2 separate regions of the Homo sapiens genome follow, and region 1 is linked to region 2. The links are contacts of gene promoters, found by promoter capture Hi-C in human tissues and cell types (Jung and others, 2019). All regions are on one chromosome and are shown on one strand. The core of a region is centred on a gene start or on the middle of the fragment in contact, and the rest is flanking DNA. Distances in the headings are between cores, read along the strand shown.

Evidence for each region. Contacts are between HindIII fragments. The study calls those that stand out against the background at their distance.
Region 1: a fragment that was not itself captured here is called in contact with the fragment with the promoter of GRID2 in region 2 in 4 of the 25 tissues and cell types used here (dorsolateral prefrontal cortex, heart left ventricle, hippocampus and 1 more).

What each region holds. Positions count from the first base shown.
Region 1 is chr4:92,359,920-92,364,019 of GRCh38, reverse strand. All of the region lies in intron 1 of GRID2 (glutamate ionotropic receptor delta type subunit 2), which reads right to left. Among named protein-coding and RNA genes, the nearest start is that of GRID2, 58 kb to the right of the region's middle. The HindIII fragment of the contact is 7,454 bases long and covers 1-4,100 here.
Region 2 is chr4:92,300,856-92,305,240 of GRCh38, reverse strand. GRID2 (glutamate ionotropic receptor delta type subunit 2) reads right to left here and starts at 1,275. Exons shown (of 16, transcript NM_001510.4): 1 at 497-1,275. The coding sequence starts at 584. The HindIII fragment of the contact is 11,112 bases long and covers 1-2,026 here.

The DNA.
Region 1 (4,100 bases), core at 1,035-3,534, 58 kb before region 2:
GTGAAATCCCCATCTCTACTAAAAATACAAAACTTAGCTGGGCATAGTGGCGGGTGCCTGTAATCCTAGCTACCTGGGGAGTTGAGACACAAGAATTGCTTCAACCCAGGAGGTGGAGGCTGCAGTGAGATGAGATCATGCCACTGCACTCCAGCCTGGGTGATAAAGGGAGATTCTGTCAGAAAAAAAAAAAAAAAAAAGTAAACTTAATTCTAGACACAGTAATTAATAAAATTCACTTTAAAAATGTGTTATTTTGAAAATTTTGTTAAAAAATATCACAACCAATGAACACTAAGCTAAACCCTTTTCCATATGATATTTTAGGAACATAGTATGTTATTTCAATTCAGTATAAAATAGAAGTCTAAATGACAAAATAATTTTTAAAAATAGCATATTCAAAGATAGGTATCCAGAAAAAAAATGAATCACCGTAAATTGTGTGTTATAAATCATCAGTAATTGACCATAGTTTAATAATCCTTTCAGTCATTGTGTATCAATTTTGAAGAGTGTATGACTACTTAGGCAGTAGTGGTTTTTTTCTCTTATCAAACATGTCCTCCTTAATAGTAAGTTTCATGTTATTTAACTAAAACGCTAAAGGTGACCTTCAAGAGTTCTTATTGTTCTGAAGTCAAAATGAGTTCATACTTTTAGACACACCTCATAGCTGAAAAATTTTGTCCTGTTTGAGAGCCTGTAAAAAATGCAGAAGACACTAGAATATTGTTTAAAAGACTTCCAAAGATATGCTTAAGATCACTGCTCTAAAGCAATTCACATGGGGGGACTTGTTAAAATATAGCTTCTGATTTGGTACATCTGGTGTGGCATCTAATACTCTACTTCACTAGTCAGCTACCAGGAGACACTGATGCTGCCACACAGAGTGTTGTCTGCTGGCCATACTCTGAGTAGTAAGATTTTGAAAGCAATGCCCTCTCAGGTATATTCACTTAACAGTGTAAAAATTAAAAATAATTGTCACTCAAAGTTTTTTTTCTCCTCTCTCTTCTGAAGAAGGGAATATATGAAGTCTTGTATTAGAGCTGGATAAAAGCTGTGGAGTCAGACAAAACTTTGAATATTGACTGTAAACTTGGATAATCGACCAAATGTTAAAATAATATCTACTACACAGGGCTGTGATACGACGTAAAAAATAATATATACAATGACACAATTAAATTCAGAAAATACGAATCTGACTCCTCACTTCATAATTACCTCAAATTATTTTATCCTAAATGAGTACAATGTGTTTGGTTTCTGAATCTTTTCTTGTTTTGATTTAAAACTTCTTAGGTCTCAAAAAATATCCTTTTTAACTTCTGAAAATATTTCAACTTAGTTTGAAATAGGTTTGTTTTGGTTAGTTTAAGATTGTTTAAATGAGAAGATTTAAAATATTTGTAATGCTGTTCAACAACAAAAATGTAAAATAATAGGTGTAACTATACATTTACAAAGAAAACTGAAATTTATATATATTTATGAGAATCTGTGGATTTAATTTAATTAAATAATTGGAAAATACATGCTACAGACATTCTGCAGTATTTCAAAATAATTTTAGAAAAATTTTTGGAATAAACAGAGCTTGTTTTAAGCCACATTAAGACAAAAATGTTTCATTATTTTGCAATCTACTTTGTTTTTGGCAAAAAAAATCATACTTCCCACTTTGATCACCCACTTTATTCACCAAATTTGGCACATTCTAACTTCTGCTAATAGCAAAAACAGAACAGACTCTTTCTGTTTGAAGATTTGCTACTGTTGAGAATTATTCATAGTACAGCCCACAGAATCCAAAGATAACACCAACACAAGAGCCCAAACAGCATGAGCAATGGTGACATTATTGTATTGTTTGGCTCCTATGATAACTACTGTGAAGGGGACATCATTCATGCCAATAAACCAGTCTGAGTATGTTGTTCAATTACTCTGATTTTCTAAGTGTCTCACCTCATATTTTTCCATCTGGGTTTGAATGAGAAACAGAAATACTTGGATTTTTCTCTTCTCATTATATTTCCAGGGCACTCTCTACAAATAACATAATACTGCAGAATTTGCTAGCATTGTAACCCCTGCCACTCCTCTAATTAACTGAGTTGATGATCCTAGAATGGAAAGAGGAAGCTGCATTAAAAGGCAGATGCTCAGTATACCACATTACTGTTGCAAATTCTCTGGCATTTATGGAAGCCAGAAGCCCAGATTACAAGAATCATGCGTACTTGAGGCCCTTCCACTATAACCAGGACACTGGCAACAAAGGAATTTGGAGACTTAAAAAAATTTACAACAGATGGGCAAACTTTTTTATATCCACTGACCCTCGCAACTACCTTTCCAACCTTCCCCCATCACAACCTACTTCCTCTGAGATTGTCCAGGTAGAGTTAGCTACAGCAGCCCTGTTTTCTAGAAATGACCATGCCAGATGGCACCTTCAGAGTATGAACACCTGGATCCTAAAAATATGTACTAGATACAGCAATACAAGGTTGTGAAAATCATCCTTGAGATTTTTACTGTTTCAATTATATAAAGGCTTTCCAGAACTTTTGTTCTGATATACAATTTACATACACAATTTTTTTTCTAATATACAATTTACATTGAATATTTCCATATACTGATACACTGTCTTCACGTAGAGTTATTTAATTGAACTATTATTTTTAATTTCAGAATTGCTTTGTCCATTTAGAGTTTAGTAGGAACATGTAGAATGACTTACCTGCGAAGGTTAAATAAAGTATTTGTTAAGTTATGGCTCTGATATCAGATCTTTTAATTCAATTTGCCTCCTAGAAAGGTCATTTGATCTCACTAAGCATTGCCTTATTTAACTGTGATTGAGGGTAATAATAGTACCTAACCTAATGGAGTTTTAGTTGGAGTTAAAGAAATATAAAACCACATTTCTTAAGAGTCCTTGGTACAGAGTAAACAATAAATAAAAATAATTACAAAACTCAGTTATGGGTGTGTTAAAGAATAAAAAAGTAGAAGAGACCTAGTCCTTACCCTCAAGCAACTTATCAGTCACCAAGCAATTTAAAATAGAACACAAATATTTAACCTAGAAAAATATCTATATCTTATCTATAAAAATGAAGACTTACAGTTGATATAAAAGGGGGAAAACCCCACAAAAGTTTCCTGTGGAGATCACTTTGAATCAGGATTGCCAATGTGATTTTTTAAGAGATATGGGCTCTGAAAGACCTGATGATTCCCTAGACTCAATATGGTCTTCCATACCTCTGCTTCTTCTGCCCCAATCCCTTCCACTCTCTACCTAGTATATTCCTTCTTATCTTTCAAGACTCCATTCAAACATCACTAATCTTATGAAGCCTCCATGATACCGTTGAACAATGCTGGGTGGCTGTGGAATGTGACTCTACTTTCACTTGTCTCTCATTGCTTTAAATTTGTTGATATGCATGCAGGTGTTCCCATCAGACTATGAATTTTTTTAGGAAAAGAACCGCATTTTTTTTTATTATTCTATGTCTAGAATCTGGCATATGGCACTCAGTAATGGTTTGGTTTTGTTTATCTGCCTGTGTTTTTATTCGAACTCATGAATGCATAAACAGGCAGAGGCAGCAGCACACAGGCTAATCCTAGAAGAATCAAAACAATTTTATGAAGAGGACAAGGAGTGGTGGGGGTGTATCCCAGCTGAAGGATAAAGATGCAGAAAAGAGAGAGGTAGGGCACAGTTACCTCCAACAAGTTGTCTTGGAATAGTATGAGATTAAAAAGAGAAGCTTGAGCCAGAATAAAGATTGTGGAACTGCATAGGTATAAATCTAGAGCCAATGTATTGCTTATAAATAACAGTAAGGGAAAACTAGGTAAAGCTCTCTGCTTAATTAAATATTTCTCCTTTTCTCCCTTCCTGTCTTCAAATACTTGCTGTATTCATAGAATTTCTTTCTTATCTCCAGAGGGAGATTAGGCTGCCCAAACCAAACCATTAAAGGTAGTTTACAAAGAAATACAATTCAGATAGATGAGAATTCTCTGCTCAGTAAGGGATTTAGAATCACAGGACTGCTGCCTCTGGT
Region 2 (4,385 bases), core at 26-2,525:
CGAACTCAGCCGGCTCACGTTGCAAAACCACCTGTTCGATCCGAAGGGAGCTCCCCCTACCCCCCAGCCCAGTTCTTTTCATCTCACAGGTGACAGCTTCTCTGCTCCCCCAAAGATAAATTTTTAAATGGAGCAAATGTACATCCGGGAAAAAAAATATGGAAGATAAGAGTCAATTAAACTCCCTTTCCCCACACACTTAGAATCCCCCTGCAGTTCCCAGCACACACTCACACTCAGGTCAACTCGAGACCCCCACGCATCCAGCCACATTCCACGAATCACTGCAAAACAACAGCACAAGTCAGTCGAGGTTCGAGCATCCACATCCTTTCAGAAAACTGAGCAAGTGTGAGGGAAGGGTAGCGGGAAGGGGCAATGAACTGAAGCCACCTCCAACAAGACACACAGAGACCGGAGAGGGGGAAAGCGAAGGGGAAACATTTGAGAACTGAAACGGTAAAAGTAACCACGAGCTGCACCAACACTTTCTTACCGATGTGAATGATCGAATCCGCATTCGCCGAGTCCCAGGTTCGAGACCACCAGACGGACAAAACCAAGAGAAAGGGGAAAACTTCCATCTCCTCCTATGCCGATTCTCTTGGAGGATGGATTTTCTTCCAATTTTTTTTTTTTCAAACAGTCCAAAGAGTTTGAGGTCACGGTGGAGTTTAGCGCAGCTTTTTCTTTTTTTCTAAATTCCTATTGCCAGAGCAAAGCCTTTTATCGTCGCCGAGAAAGGCAGAAGGGAATGACAGAAAGAGCCCAGCCTGAGGAAACCTCCTTCGCAAAGCCGTGTCACTTGGAGGGGAATTTTGGCATCGCCAGAGTTGTTTGCAGTTTGGCTTTTGAAAAATATATCCAGCCTCTACTGCTCTTGGGCAGGGGGAGAGGCTGGGGCTCAGATCAGACCCATCGCTGCGCGGGGGCCGCGGGTCTCCGGTCCCAGCTCCGCTGCAACTTCCAACACCCCCCTCACGCCGGATGTGCCCCCTTCCCCGCACCCTCTCGGACCAAAAAAGACCCCCGCCCCCGCCCCTACAGCCCGCAGAGAATCACTGGTCTTCGCTGCCAGAATCTAAGTGGAAAGGAAAGATTAGGAGATTCCAAACGGAGCAGCCAGATTCCACCAGGGAGGGGGGAAAAAAGCCCTCTCCAAGAGGGGTAGAAAAAGTGAACTTCAAGGTAATGCAGATAGTAATGCAGAGAAAATTCCCTTTCTGCGTGAGGCGCGGAACGCAGCTTGGCGAGGCGGGCCCGGGGAGCCGGTTTGCTGGGGCGCGGTGGCGGGGGGGTTGCGCCGGGCGCGAGCAGCGGGGCCGGGCCAGAGGAGGGAAGCCGCCGCAGGCTGCAGGATGCTTTTGGAGCGTTTCGCCTGGCGGGATGCAGGAAGCAAGGAGCGAGCCTGGCAGCTTCAGCACCAGCCCCACGTTGCCTAGAAATGGATCACCTAGGAGAAGGAGCGAGCCTGCGAGAGAGCGGTGCTGTCAGGCGGAGAGAGGGGGAAACCAAGAGAGGAAGAGCTTCTCTCTAATAACCACCTCCTCCCCCTATCTGCAATACAAGGGAGAAACAAAATAGTGCTCTCATTTCCCATGGAATCTTCAACCGGGACTGAGAAAAAGGCAGGACTGTAAAAAGACATTGAAGCTTTTTTTTTCCTTTCTTTATTTTACGAGGTTAAATGCAACCTAAAAAAGCCACCCCACTTATTTAACCTTGCTATTCTCTAACAGGTATCAGACTTTTTCTAGTCTTTGCCTGGAATTAGTCACATTGGTTGAAAACAAATTAGGGACACCTGGTCACTTAGGGAAATACAGACCTAGAAAGCTTTTAATGAGATTTCAATTATAAAGTTATAAAAAGGAGAGAACGTGCTAATTACCTTTTATACAATGATTTTTTTTTTCTGTCTCCAGTGTATTTTTTAGGCAATCAGGATAGAGAAAGGTTCCTGAAATCCTTTCTATTGATAGAAATTCTTCTCTATCAGGATAGAAAAGATCTTGAAATTAAAATAAAAAAGCAGAATAATTAAATAAAACAGAAAAATTTTTCATAAACATTTGGTCAAAATATTTCATTGAGTAGCTTAATAACCTATGTAGATAAATTCCGAATGAGGAAGTTGGGTACTCTCTTCCATGGAAAAAGCTGAGGAAGTCCTGAATGACAGCCTCTCAGTCTCCAGTGAAAGGATTTTCTGCAAGCTTATTCCTTAAGATAAAATCCTGATCATTGTGACTTCTTTTCTTATAATGATTGACTTATGTCAATCTGGCCTCATTGCAAACTGAAGATTTGTTAACACAATCGAGTGACTAGTCGAGGTCAGGTATTAATGTCATAATATTGTCTCAGTTATAATTGGAATTCTTTAGGAATGTTGGATGTGTGGATGTCAAGCTCATTACACAACCTTTCAAAGCCTTACCTCCAAGTTTGGCAAACCTCTTTTCCTCCCGTTCCCTCACTTGAGCCCTTCTCTCTAGCCTTCTGAATTGGGTTACTATTTTTCCAGACACAGTTGTACATTCTCACTTCTGGCTGTTTTCATTCATCTTGTACACTTTTTCCTGAACATTCCAGAAAATGTTTTGCTGCCATATTTTTACTTATGTTAATATTTCTGCTTGGAAAGCACGTATTTGTCCTCCCAACCACTCTCCTTCACCATCTCAAGGGCTAGTTCAAATTCCTTTTGCCCATGAAGTAGTGTCCAGTCCTTTAATGTGGAATAAATCCATCTATCTTCTATGCTGTCGTAACACACCCTATTTTGTATTAGAGTTAGACAGAACTACTACTAAGTTAGATCATAAATGCCTTGAGAGTGAAAACCAAAGCTCATTCACATTTTATTCAACACAGCATTTTACAGAGAACCCCTTTGTTGACTTGAATTTCATCACTTCCTTCTGAATCTGGAACAAACCAGTGCTTCCAAGAAGCATTCACTGATTAATTACTCTCAATTTTGATCATTCTCTTATCTTTTGTTTCCATTAGTAGACATTGACTCAATATTGATTATATTAATGTTGGTGTTAATGTCATTTTACTTTATAAAGTGTTTTGATGCAATTCCATAGATTATACTTTGCTTATTCAGATAATGAATTGAAAGAAGAGATGCACTCCCCATAGCTTCCTTCAAATATTATTTACAGTGACATTCTAAAAATTGGTAAGTCATTATGTATTCTATCAAGAAAAATTATAACCATTTAACATGGAAAGAACACCATGATATCTTAGAATAAGATAACTAGGAAGAACTTCAGAGCATTAACTAGTCCAGTCCTGGCTAATGAGTATCTGTCCTGGAGAAAGTCAAATATTGTATAGTCATATTCATACTATTTCCCCTCTTGGAAATGTTTTAGTGTACTGTGAGCAAAGCATTTTCATTATTCCCAAATCCTCCAGTTTAGTAGTTTTCAAATGTAGATTCACTTTGAAATAATCTGAGAAGCTTTTTAAAATGGTCACTTAAGGCTAATTTAATCAGAATCTCTGGAGTTTGGGACACAGCCTGTAATATATTCTAAAAGCCTCTATACAGGGCTCTGCTATGCAGCCATAGTTCAGAATCACTGTTCTAATACTCAGACATTTAAATGAGTCTGGGTGACACATCAAAAAAAGCCCTTAAGGTATAATGACCACTCCTGCCAATCAGAAGAAACAGTAGAACAACAAGTTTTGGCTTTCCAAAAGTTACACAAGAAAGTTAGTATAAATTTAACATTGGCTGTTTGATTTTTCAAGAATAACAATCAGTCTTTTTACTGTTGAAATAATTTCTACATTCAATGATTCCTAATTAATAAATATATAATAAATATATATTAACTATATTTTCTACTACTTTAGAAAATTGTCTGTCATAATGTAATATGTAGTTAGCTGGATACAAATATTTATAATGTGTGAGTTAGATGTTAAATTCCAGAAGAAAAAATATGAATTCACTAGCTGTGCATATTAAATGTTTTAATGACAGCTATCTGTTGGTCTCATTAAGGCTGCTTAACTTTAATTCAAGCCTTATTATATGGAAATAAGTGATGTACCTGGCCCACTGTACTTAAATTCAAACCTTGTGAAATTCTGGCATGTATTGGCAGGAAAATACCCTCATTAACTAAAGTTTTATAACAAATGATTAACTATTTAAAATAAAATGTAAGTAAATCATGTTTGTTGAGTTTATTCTTCCAAGGTGGAGACTGTTACTTCATTCAGGCATCGATCATGATTTGAACATCAATTATTTGAAGAAATGATAGATTATCTGAACTACCCCAAGATTTAAACTAATATGCCTATTTTTCTTTGAAAAGCAGAATTTTTGAGAAAAACTGATTTGCATTGGA